3 separate regions of the Homo sapiens genome follow, and regions 2 and 3 are each linked to region 1. Evidence: promoter capture Hi-C in 16 types of primary human blood cells and fetal thymus (Javierre and others, 2016). All regions are on one chromosome and are shown on one strand. Each heading gives the region's core, a stretch centred on a gene start or on the middle of the fragment in contact. The rest is flanking DNA. Distances are from core to core; before and after follow the strand shown.

What was found. Contacts are between HindIII fragments. The CHiCAGO score rates a contact against its expected background, and 5 or more counts as called.
Region 2: a fragment that was not itself captured here is called in contact with the fragment with the promoter of ELOA in region 1 in 1 of 17 cell types (total CD8 T cells); the score reaches 5.1 in total CD8 T cells.
Region 3: a contact is called between a fragment that was not itself captured here and the fragment with the promoter of ELOA in region 1, in 1 of 17 cell types (naive B cells). The highest score is 6.9, in naive B cells.

What each region holds. Positions count from the first base shown.
Region 1 is chr1:23,741,980-23,745,260 of GRCh38, reverse strand. ELOA (elongin A) reads right to left here and starts at 1,790. Exons shown (of 11, transcript NM_003198.3): 1 at 1,683-1,790. The coding sequence starts at 1,757. RefSeq lists silencers at 1,129-1,608, 1,759-1,988. The HindIII fragment of the contact is 10,892 bases long and covers 1-3,281 here.
Region 2 is chr1:23,899,537-23,902,603 of GRCh38, reverse strand. The region is part of intron 1 of CNR2 (cannabinoid receptor 2); the gene reads left to right. It also overlaps the pseudogene BTBD6P1. Among named protein-coding and RNA genes, the nearest start is that of CNR2, 12 kb to the left of the region's middle. The HindIII fragment of the contact is 211 bases long and covers 1,261-1,471 here.
Region 3 is chr1:23,505,587-23,508,571 of GRCh38, reverse strand. E2F2 (E2F transcription factor 2) reads left to right here. Exons shown (of 7, transcript NM_004091.4): 7 at 1-2,134. Among named protein-coding and RNA genes, the nearest start is that of ASAP3, 23 kb to the right of the region's middle. The HindIII fragment of the contact is 177 bases long and covers 1,495-1,671 here.

The DNA of each region.
Region 1 (3,281 bases), core at 541-3,040:
TAAAAAATAATGACCATTTATTAGATGTCCACAAGGGGTTACTGTAAAAAGAAACTTGTAAGTATGCCTGACCACTAGGTACGGTACTGAAGCTGCAACAGAAAACATGGCACAATGAAAGCATTTTAAGTTTTCCCAGATTTGTAACTAAAATGGCTTCCTGAGGAAGTGAATCTTCGAGCTAGGTATGAACGAAGAGCCTTAAAAAGTGGTCTGATGGTGAGAGGCTGTGTACGGCCTTTGGAATTGCAGAAACCCTACCTCCAACAGGCTAGAACAAGGTAAAGAGAAAGTGGCTCTTCAAGAAAAAAAACCCCAAAGAATGACGATTGGTTTTCTGAGCACTGACTTTCAGCCTGGTACCTTAGCCTTTCAGGTTAGTCCTAGGAAGCAGCAGGTGAGGAAGAGGCTCAGCAGAGCAGTTCCCCCACGGCCCTAGCCCTCCCTCCACGACTTCCTTTTCCACCAGGACTGAGTTCCAACTCCTAGAACTGCCCGCCCCGGCCAGAATGATGACGGAGAATGCCAAACACATAAGTGCTTTTTCATCGTTGTACTTCCACTTAAAAAATCCTGACAACTGAGTTCAAGACCAGCCTGGCCAAGATGGTGAAACCCTGTCTCTACTAAAAATACAAAAATTAGCCAGGCGTGGTGGCGGGCGCCTACAATACCAGCTACTCGGGAGGCTGAGGCAGACAATTGCCTGAACCCGGGAGACGGAGGTTGCAGTGAGCCGAGATCGCGCCACTGTACTCCAGCCTGGGCGACCAGAGCAAGACTCGCCTCAAAAAAAAAAAAGAAAAAAAAAAATCCTGACAACCACCAGACTGTCTCCTGGAGACCAGAGAAGTGAGTGACAGAAAGATGAAAAGGTACAAGAACGCGTTTAACTTAATATTCAGTTTGTACAATAAACAACAAAAACTAGTTAACTACAATTAAAAATGGTTGTCCATCACTCGAACAACGAGAAACGGTAGCTCTTACCTTCCTATTAATGGCCAAAAGGAAACCTAGCTGCGACTTCCAACCCCGGGCCCCCGCCTCTTTTTCAATTCCAACCTAAGTTTTCAGGAGTATGCTTAGGTGACGCGAGGCTTTATTCTGTTTTGAAAGGGATTCACTGAGAAAGCGAAAGGTCCACGCTCTGATATCCAGCCGGAGAGTAGTAACCGCGTCTCCGAGAGGCGCGGACCAGACCGCGAGTCCAGGCTCCGCAGCGTTCGGGCGCCCGTCTTCTCCTCCCAGCGAACACGCACCCGCTGGGGAGTCCGCGCCGCTCCGCGGGGAGCCGGGCACCAGCGCAGGCACCGGGAGGCCAACGAGGCGGCGGCCAGCGCCCTCCCGCCCCGGGCACGCTCTCCCGCAGGAAACAGCTGGCTCGGGACGCCACGGAGCGCCTCTGGGAGGAAGCGCTAGGCACGCGGTGTCCGCACCGGGCGCGCCCCCATCCCGGGCCCGTGAGGGAGGGGGAGCGGCCGGGGCCCCGCGTCCCGACGCCCGACGCACGGGGTCCCAACGCGCGGGCAGCGGTCAATGGCCGCGAACTTCACGACCCCAGCCCCGCGGGGCCTGGCTCAGGGTCCCAGCCCCCGAACCCCGCCACGCTCGGGCCGCGACCGTTACGGGGCCCTCACCGACCCAACGCCCATCCCGCTACGCGCCGCCCCCTCGCTTACCTTCTTAGGGTCCGGGTTCGCGGCCAGGCGCGCCTGCAGCTTCTCCACAACTTGGAGCGCCGACTCCGCCGCCATCGCTGTCACTGGCGCGGCCTCCTCGCCGGAACTGGGCTCGCGTCGCGTCCTCGGGCCGCAGCTCCGCCCTCCGTGCATCCCCGGCGGAGACGGAAGCGCGCCTGGCCCCTTCCGGGCCTCGGCTGGGGTGTGTGGGGGGCGGTGGGCTGCAGGCTCCGCCCCCAGGGCCCGCTCCCCAGCGCCCACCCGGCGGCCGCGCACTCCTCGCGCCCCTGGCCCAAGTGTGCGCGCTGGGGGCTGGGGGCTGCTCGGGCCGTACGCGCCTCCGCCGCCGGCACCCCCGCTCCCTGTGCTCGCGTGCTGAGCCCAAGCCTGGAAGACCTCTCCAGGGTCTACTTCAAGACGGAATGAGGCCACCGCGCCAGACCCTGGCCTTATAAATGCCAACGCTTTCTCCCGCCTGGGGCTTAGCCACACCCTAATCAACACCTTGTCAGGGGTCCCGGGCTGGTGCCCGTCCTAGGAGTCCGCAGGCACCCGCGGTAGCAGCCACCCTAGGCTGAGCACACGATGCGTCAGTAGTTAGACTATCTTTTCCAGCCTCAGTACAACCTGATGAAACGAGTTGTATGATCTTCATTTTACAGATGAGGAAACTGAGGTTCAGGGAGACCAAATTAACTTGCAGATGGCCGCAGGACAGGAAAGAACTGAAAATGGAACCTGAATCTAAGATGTCTAGGACCATTGTGAGCGCACATTTCTGAACAGGTCGAGGAATTGAGGCCCAGAGAAAGGGATTTTTCAAAATCCAAACAGCTTAGTTCCTTCCATGAGGCAATAATAGCCCATGTGTCTTGTTTTCCCCACAAACAGTGTCTGGCACATAGGCACTAAATAAATACTTATTGCATGAATGTATAGATAGATAGATGTTTCCTCTGATGACTTGCCAATGAGCCGTATGGCTTGATTAGAAGAGCCCAAGATATTATTCTTCAGGCCGTCTACTCTCATCCTAAAAGCACTAAGTTTTACCATTACTAATACTACTACTAAAAAGAGCAACTAAATAGTTGCAAACTCACTTAAAGTACCAGCACTGATTACATCTCATTTGATCACATCAAAGCAGAACCTAATCAGATCTTCAGCAGCAAATTGGCAATGCACCTAGCCTGATCTCTCCCTCAAAGCAGGAAAGCCCAGAGATTCTTCCAGATTCTAGCTCTGGAAGAAAGAAAAACATCTTAAACACAAGTTGTTTCTTCAAATGAGCATTCATTCACTCACTATGCTGAAAAGCCCTCTCTACCATGTCCCTACTCCTCCATTTGGCGCCCCTCCCCCAGTTCCCTAAGCAACTGACCACCTTTTCAGGGTGTAAATGGTCAGTTTATTTATCTGTCTTGCCACTGGGCTGTTTATTTATCAAGTACAGTAACCGACCTGTCCAACTTTGAATCTCTGCCACCTAGCATCATCTAGACCTTATAATCAGCATTGGATATAAAGTCCATACAAGACTAATGACCATCCACTTGGTACCCTAAGGCTCAACTGAGGGATGTTGTAGAAAAGGCA
Region 2 (3,067 bases), core at 117-2,616, 160 kb before region 1:
CTTCTATGCCATGTTCTACTGGGACCTGGCGGAAGTCAAATCTGAAATTCACATTCCAGACGTGGAGCCCGCAGCCTTTCTGATCCTATTAAAGTACGTGTACAGTGATGAGATCGATCTGGAAGCGGATACGGTGCTGGCCACTCTGTAGGCTGCTAAGAAGTACATCGTCCCAGCATTGGCAAAAGCCTGCGTCAACTTTCTGGGGACAAGTCTGAAAGCCAAGAACGCCTGCGTCCTGCTGTCCCAGAGCCGGCTGTTTGAGGAGCCCGACCTGACCCAGCGCTGCTGGGAGGTCATCGACGCACAGGCCGAGATGGCCCTGCGGTCCCAAGGCTTCTGTGAGATGGACCGGCAGACGTTGGAGATCATTGTCACTCGGGAGGCCCTCAACACCAGGAGGCGGTGGTCTTCAAGGCCGTCCTGAACTGGGCCAAGGCAGAGTGCAAGAGGCAGGGGCTGCCAGTCACCCCACGAAACAAGAGGCATGTTTTGGGGCGAGCCCTCTATCTGATCCGAATTCCAACCATGACCCTAGAGGAGTTTGCCAACGGCGCTGCCCAGTCAGACATCCAGACATCCTGACTCTGGAGGAGACCCACACCATCTTCCTGTGGTACACGGCCACCAACAAGCCCCGCCTGGACTTCCCCCTGATCAAGAGGAAGGGCCTCACCCCGCAGAGGTGCCACCTATTCCAGTCTTCTGCCTACCGCAGCAACCAATGCCAGTACTGCGGGCGCTGCGACAGCATCCAGTTTGCAGTGGACAGAAGGGTATTTATTGCGGGGCTAGGCCTGTGTGGGTCCAGCTCTGGGAAGGCTGAGTACAGCGTGAAGATTGAGCTCAAGAGGCTTGGGGTAGTTCTGGCTCAGAATCTGACCAAATTCATGTCGGACAGATCCAGTAACACCTTCCCGGTCTGGTTTGAACACCCGGTCCAGGTTGAACAAGACACCTTCTACATGGCCAGTGCTGTTCTGGACGGCAGCAACCTCAGCTACTTTGGGCAGGAGGGGATGACGCAAGTGCAGTGCAGAAAGGTGGCCTTCCAGTTCCAGTGCTCCTCGGACAGCACCAACGGGACTGGGGTCCAGGGTGGGCAGATCCCTGAGCTCATCTTCTATGCCTGAGGTGCCCGGGGAGGCTGCAGCAGGTCGGCGAGTGGATGGAGGGGAAATCAGGACACTAACTGCTTCTTGACACCATGAAAGGCCACACTTAACCTTGTCTCTCTTTGGCATGTAGTCAACTGAAGCTTGATTCTGTGAAGTAGGCACCTTTTCCACACAGCCAGAGCTGGGGGATTGGAGTCTTAGGCATCTCTGGTACACTGGGGTGCACGTCTCAGGTGGAGGAAGATTTAGGGCACAAGACAGGCCCCAGATCCCCTCCCAATGGCACCCATGCCACCTGCTTTGAGGGGTTGCATGTTCCTGCCACCCTCTTGGATACTAAGTGGTTCCAAGCTTAACTGTAGACCTTCCCTTCAAATCTAAAATCGGCAAAAAGTCACTTAAAATAAGGGACTTCTGTAATAAAGGTTGCCTACAATTAAAAAAAGAAAGAGTTACTGAGCAGTGACCATGGGTGAGGCAGGTGCACTTAAGATACGGGAGTGAACAAAACAAATAATAAGCCTTAACTCCCTTGGAGCGACCATTCTAGTGTCCTATTACTCAAATCAGTCTCCCCCAGCATTCGAGGATCAGAGATTTTAAGGACAATTTGGTTGGTAGCTGGAAACGTGGCTCGGTAAAATGGTCCAAGGTGGGAAGGATAAAAATGAGATTAGGGAGGCCAGGCACGGTGGCACATGCCTGTAATCTCAGCACTTTGGGAGGCCAAGGCGGGCGGTTCACCTGAGGTTGGGAGTTCAAGACCAGCCTGATCAACATGGAGAAACCCCATTTCTACTAAAAATACAAACTTGGCCAGGCGTGGTGGCACATGCCTGTAATCCCAGCTACTTGGGAGGCTGAGGCAAGAGAATTGCTTGAACCTGGGAGGCGGAGGTTTCAGTGAGCCGAGATTGCACCATTGCACCCTAGCCTGGGCAACAAGAGTGAAACTGTCTCAAAAAAAAAAAAAAAAAAAAAGAGATCAGGGAAGAGATGGTTGCCCAGAAGTATAAGAGAGACCCCATGCCCCTCCGTCTATAAGCCTCTAGGGGTTCACCTTGCCTGCCGCCTAGACAGAGCCGATTCATCAAGACAGGAGAATTGCAATAGAGAAAGAGTAATTTATGCAGAGCTGGCTGTGCGGGAGACCGGAATTTTATTATTACTCAAATCAGTCTCCACCAGCATTCAAGGATCAGAGTTTTTAAGGACAGTTTGTTTGGTTGCGGGGAGCCAGTGAGCCAGGAGTGCTGATTGGCCAGGGATGAAATCACAGGGGGTCGAAGCTGTCCTCTTGCGCTGAGTCAGTTCCTGGGTGGGGGCCACAAGATCACATGAGCCAGTTTATGGATTTGGGTGGTGCCAGCTGATCCATCAAGTGCAGGGTCTGCAAAGTATCTCAAGCACTGATCGCAGGAGCAGTTTAGGGAGGGTCAGAATCTTGTAGCCTCCAGCTGCATGACTCCTAAACCTTCCTTCCTTTCTTTCTTTCTTTTCTTTCTTTCTTTCCTTTCTTTCTTTCTTTCCTTTCTTTCTCTTTCCTTTCTTTCTCTTTCTTTCTCTTTCTTTCTTTCTCTTTCTTTCTTTCTCTTTCTTTCTTTCTCTCTCTCTCTTTCCTTCCTTCCCTCTTTCTTTCTTTTCTTTCTTTTTTTTCTTTTCTTTCTTTCTTTCTGACAGAGACCCCTCTGTCGCCCAGGCTGGAGTGCAGTGACGCAATCTCAGCTCACTGCACCCTCCACCTTCCAGGTTCAAGTGATTCTTCTGCCTCCCCCTCTCGAGTAGCTGGTATTACAGCATGCACCACCACACCTGGCTAACTTTTGTATTTTTAGTGGAGGCGGAGTTTCAGCATGTTGGCCAGGCTGGTCTTACCTCCTGACCGCAAGTGATCCACCCGCCTCAGCCTCCCAAAGTGCTGGGATTACAGGCGTGAACTACCACACCAG
Region 3 (2,985 bases), core at 334-2,833, 240 kb after region 1:
GTCTTTTGGCTTCAGCCTGTTCCCCCAGAGGCTTGATCATCCCACATTGTCCCTTCAGCTCAGCTGCTCTTCTCCCCCACCCACCCTGGGATGTGGGTGCTCTGGGCTGAACCAAGGCTATGACTTCTGGAGAGAGGCTCAGGGGTTGGTCTGAGAGGCCTGCCATCCACCCCTCAGGGAGCTAGGTTTTCTCAGAGGCTCAGCTGGACAGCACTTTTTAGAAAAGTTTGTAGCATTAAGCTGGTTTAAAATATGAAGTTGGTTTTGTTGGATGGCTCCTGAGCTGACTGACTGATGTCTGAAGTTTGAGACGAGGGATTATTTCAGGGTGGGGCCCAATGTGATCTAATGCCCAGCTGGGGACAATTGTGCCTCATCATTTGCTCAAATTCCTGGGCCCCCAAGTTAGCCCCCTCCCAGGAGTGGTCAGCGGGTCACAGCTGCCCCCACTCTATAAGCAGGGCTAATTGTGTACCCTTTGCAGAAATGCTTTTGGTCTCCTACCCAAATACTCACAAGGGTCTTATCAGACGCCCGTCTTAAAGTCCAGCATGCTCAGGGACCCTGTGTAGGATCTCGTTTGTGGTGAGTGGGCTGCTCTGAGGTCTCCACTGGGCTGCCATTTAGCCATGTGCCATCTCTGAAGTCAGAGGTGTTTGACTCCCATTCCTTGGGCTCTGGAGCTTTCCCCAAGAATTACATCAGAGAAAAGGAAGAAGGGGCCTGCAGGACCCATTGGGAATGAGTTTAATACTGAAGTCTGGAATGTAAGCTCATGCCCTAGAGGCCTCTCCATATGGCTGGTCAGGGGAGCTGCCTTCAGGCTTGTGCCCCGTGTGCTCAGCAGCTGCCTCTGTCCCCCTCTACTGTCCCTTTCACACCTTGCCTGGCCAAGGGGCTAGACCTCCCAGGCTAAGCCTCAGATTCAGTGCAGGACACAAGCTCATGCCCCCGTCTTGCCAGTGACACTTGAAGCCTCCCGACTTCCACAGAGTGCTTCAGGACACATTTTGAGTGGTATTTTCTTTTCTTTTTTTCTTCTTTTTTTTTTTTTTTGAGATGGAGTCTCGCTCTGTTGCCCAGGCTGGAGTGCAGTGGCCTGATCTCGGCTCACTGCAACCTCTGCCTCCCAGGTTCAAGCGATTCTTCTGCCTCAGCCTCCAGAGTAGCTGGGACTATAGACATGCACCACCACGCCCGGCTAATTTTGTATTTTTGGTCGAGACGGGGTTTTGCCATGTTAGTCAGGCTGGTCTTGAACTCCTGACCTCAAGTGATCCACCACCTCGGCCTCCCAAAGTGTTGAGATGACAGGCACGAGCCACCAGGCCCAGCCTGAGTGGTATTTTCTTTAGGGACCAGGTAGACTTTAAAACGAGGGTAAGAGAAAAGCCAGTGTCTTTCTGAGGTAAATAATTTCTGCCAGGAAACTTCCCAGCCCCACCAGCAGCCCCCCTAAAAAAATCACTCGTGTCCCCAGGGACTTCTAAAGCTTGGGGCTCCAGGAAATCATCCAGTAGAGTTGGAGATTCAGAGATTTCTTGAAGCCAGGGACATGCTCCTAACTCCTTTCCCATTAAAGGTGTTAGAATAGACCAGAGGGTGTCCCTTTTCCACAGTAATGGGATCGGCTGGTGTGCCTTCAGGGAGGAAGAGGGAGGTGGTCAAGCTTGAAAAACTGGCTTTAGGATGGTTCTGACTTTGTTCTCCCTCCCCAAGTGTTCTCAACCTCCATTCTGCAGTGTTCAGAGTTTTAGGGAAAGGGTTTGGGTGCCCCAGCATCCAGGTGTTGTGTGGCTTAGCGCATGTGAAGTGAAAACCTTCTGGGGTTGTTTGGAAGCAGCTTTCTGGTTCTTGTGATTGTATCCTGAGGTCCCAGAACCCTATTCTCCCACGAGGATCCTCAGTGACCATGGTGGCCACACGCCTGGCCAGCCTGCTGGCTCCTGGGTGAGCTGAAGAACCTTGCCTGTGGCACTTTTCGAGGGTGAGCTGGAACCGAGAGAACATGGTCCCCGTGCTGGGACTCATGCGGGTCATTTCCTGCCGGCCTGGTTTCGCCTGGTCGTGTCTTTATGAGCACCATGTAAGCCTCCTTGTATTGAGATAATTGGGCATTAAACATTAAACTGCAGCTCTGGGCATCTTGTCTTTGTCGTGCTTTCTGAAGCTCATTACCAACTGTGGATCTGGTCCCCGCAGGCTGGGTGTTGGGGGCTGTCCTGGCCAATGCTGGGGGCACATGATTGCCCAGTGGATTTCCCTCCAAGATACAGTCTCTTATCACCATGCCTGCAATCTCACCATTAAGGCACTGAAAAGTTCGCAGCACCCAGATCTAAAATGTGATCAGCCCTGACTCTGTCTCCCCCATCTATTTCCACAGCTTCCTGAAAGGTCTTGCTGCCCACACTCTCCCTCCCACCCTCTACATCAGTGGGTCCAACTGTAGTCCTCAGACCAGCAGCAGCAGTATCACCTGGAAATGTGAGACATGCATATTCAAGACCATGCCTCACGCTGGGTGCGGTGGATCACTTGAAGTTAGGAGTTCAAGACCAGTCTGGCCAGCATGGTGAAACCCCATCTCTGCTAAAAATATAAAAAAATTAGCCGGGCTTGGTGGCGGGTGCCTGTAATCCAAGCTACTGAAGAGGCTGAGGCAGGAGAATCGCTTGAACCCAGGAGGCAGAGGATGCAGTGAGATCACACCACTGCACTCCAGCCTGGGCTACATAGTGAGACTCTGCAAAAAAAAAGGCCAGGTGCAGTGGCTCACGCCTGTAATCCCAACACTTCGAGAGTCCAAGGCGGGCGGATCGCAAGGTCAGGAGATTGAGATCATCCTGGCTAACACAGTGAAACCCCGTCTCTACTAAAAAAATAAAATAAATTAGCGGGCATGGTTGCAGGCGCCTGTAACTCCAGCTACTCAGGAGGCTGAGTCAGGAGAATCACTTTAACCCAGGAGGCAGAGGTTGCAGT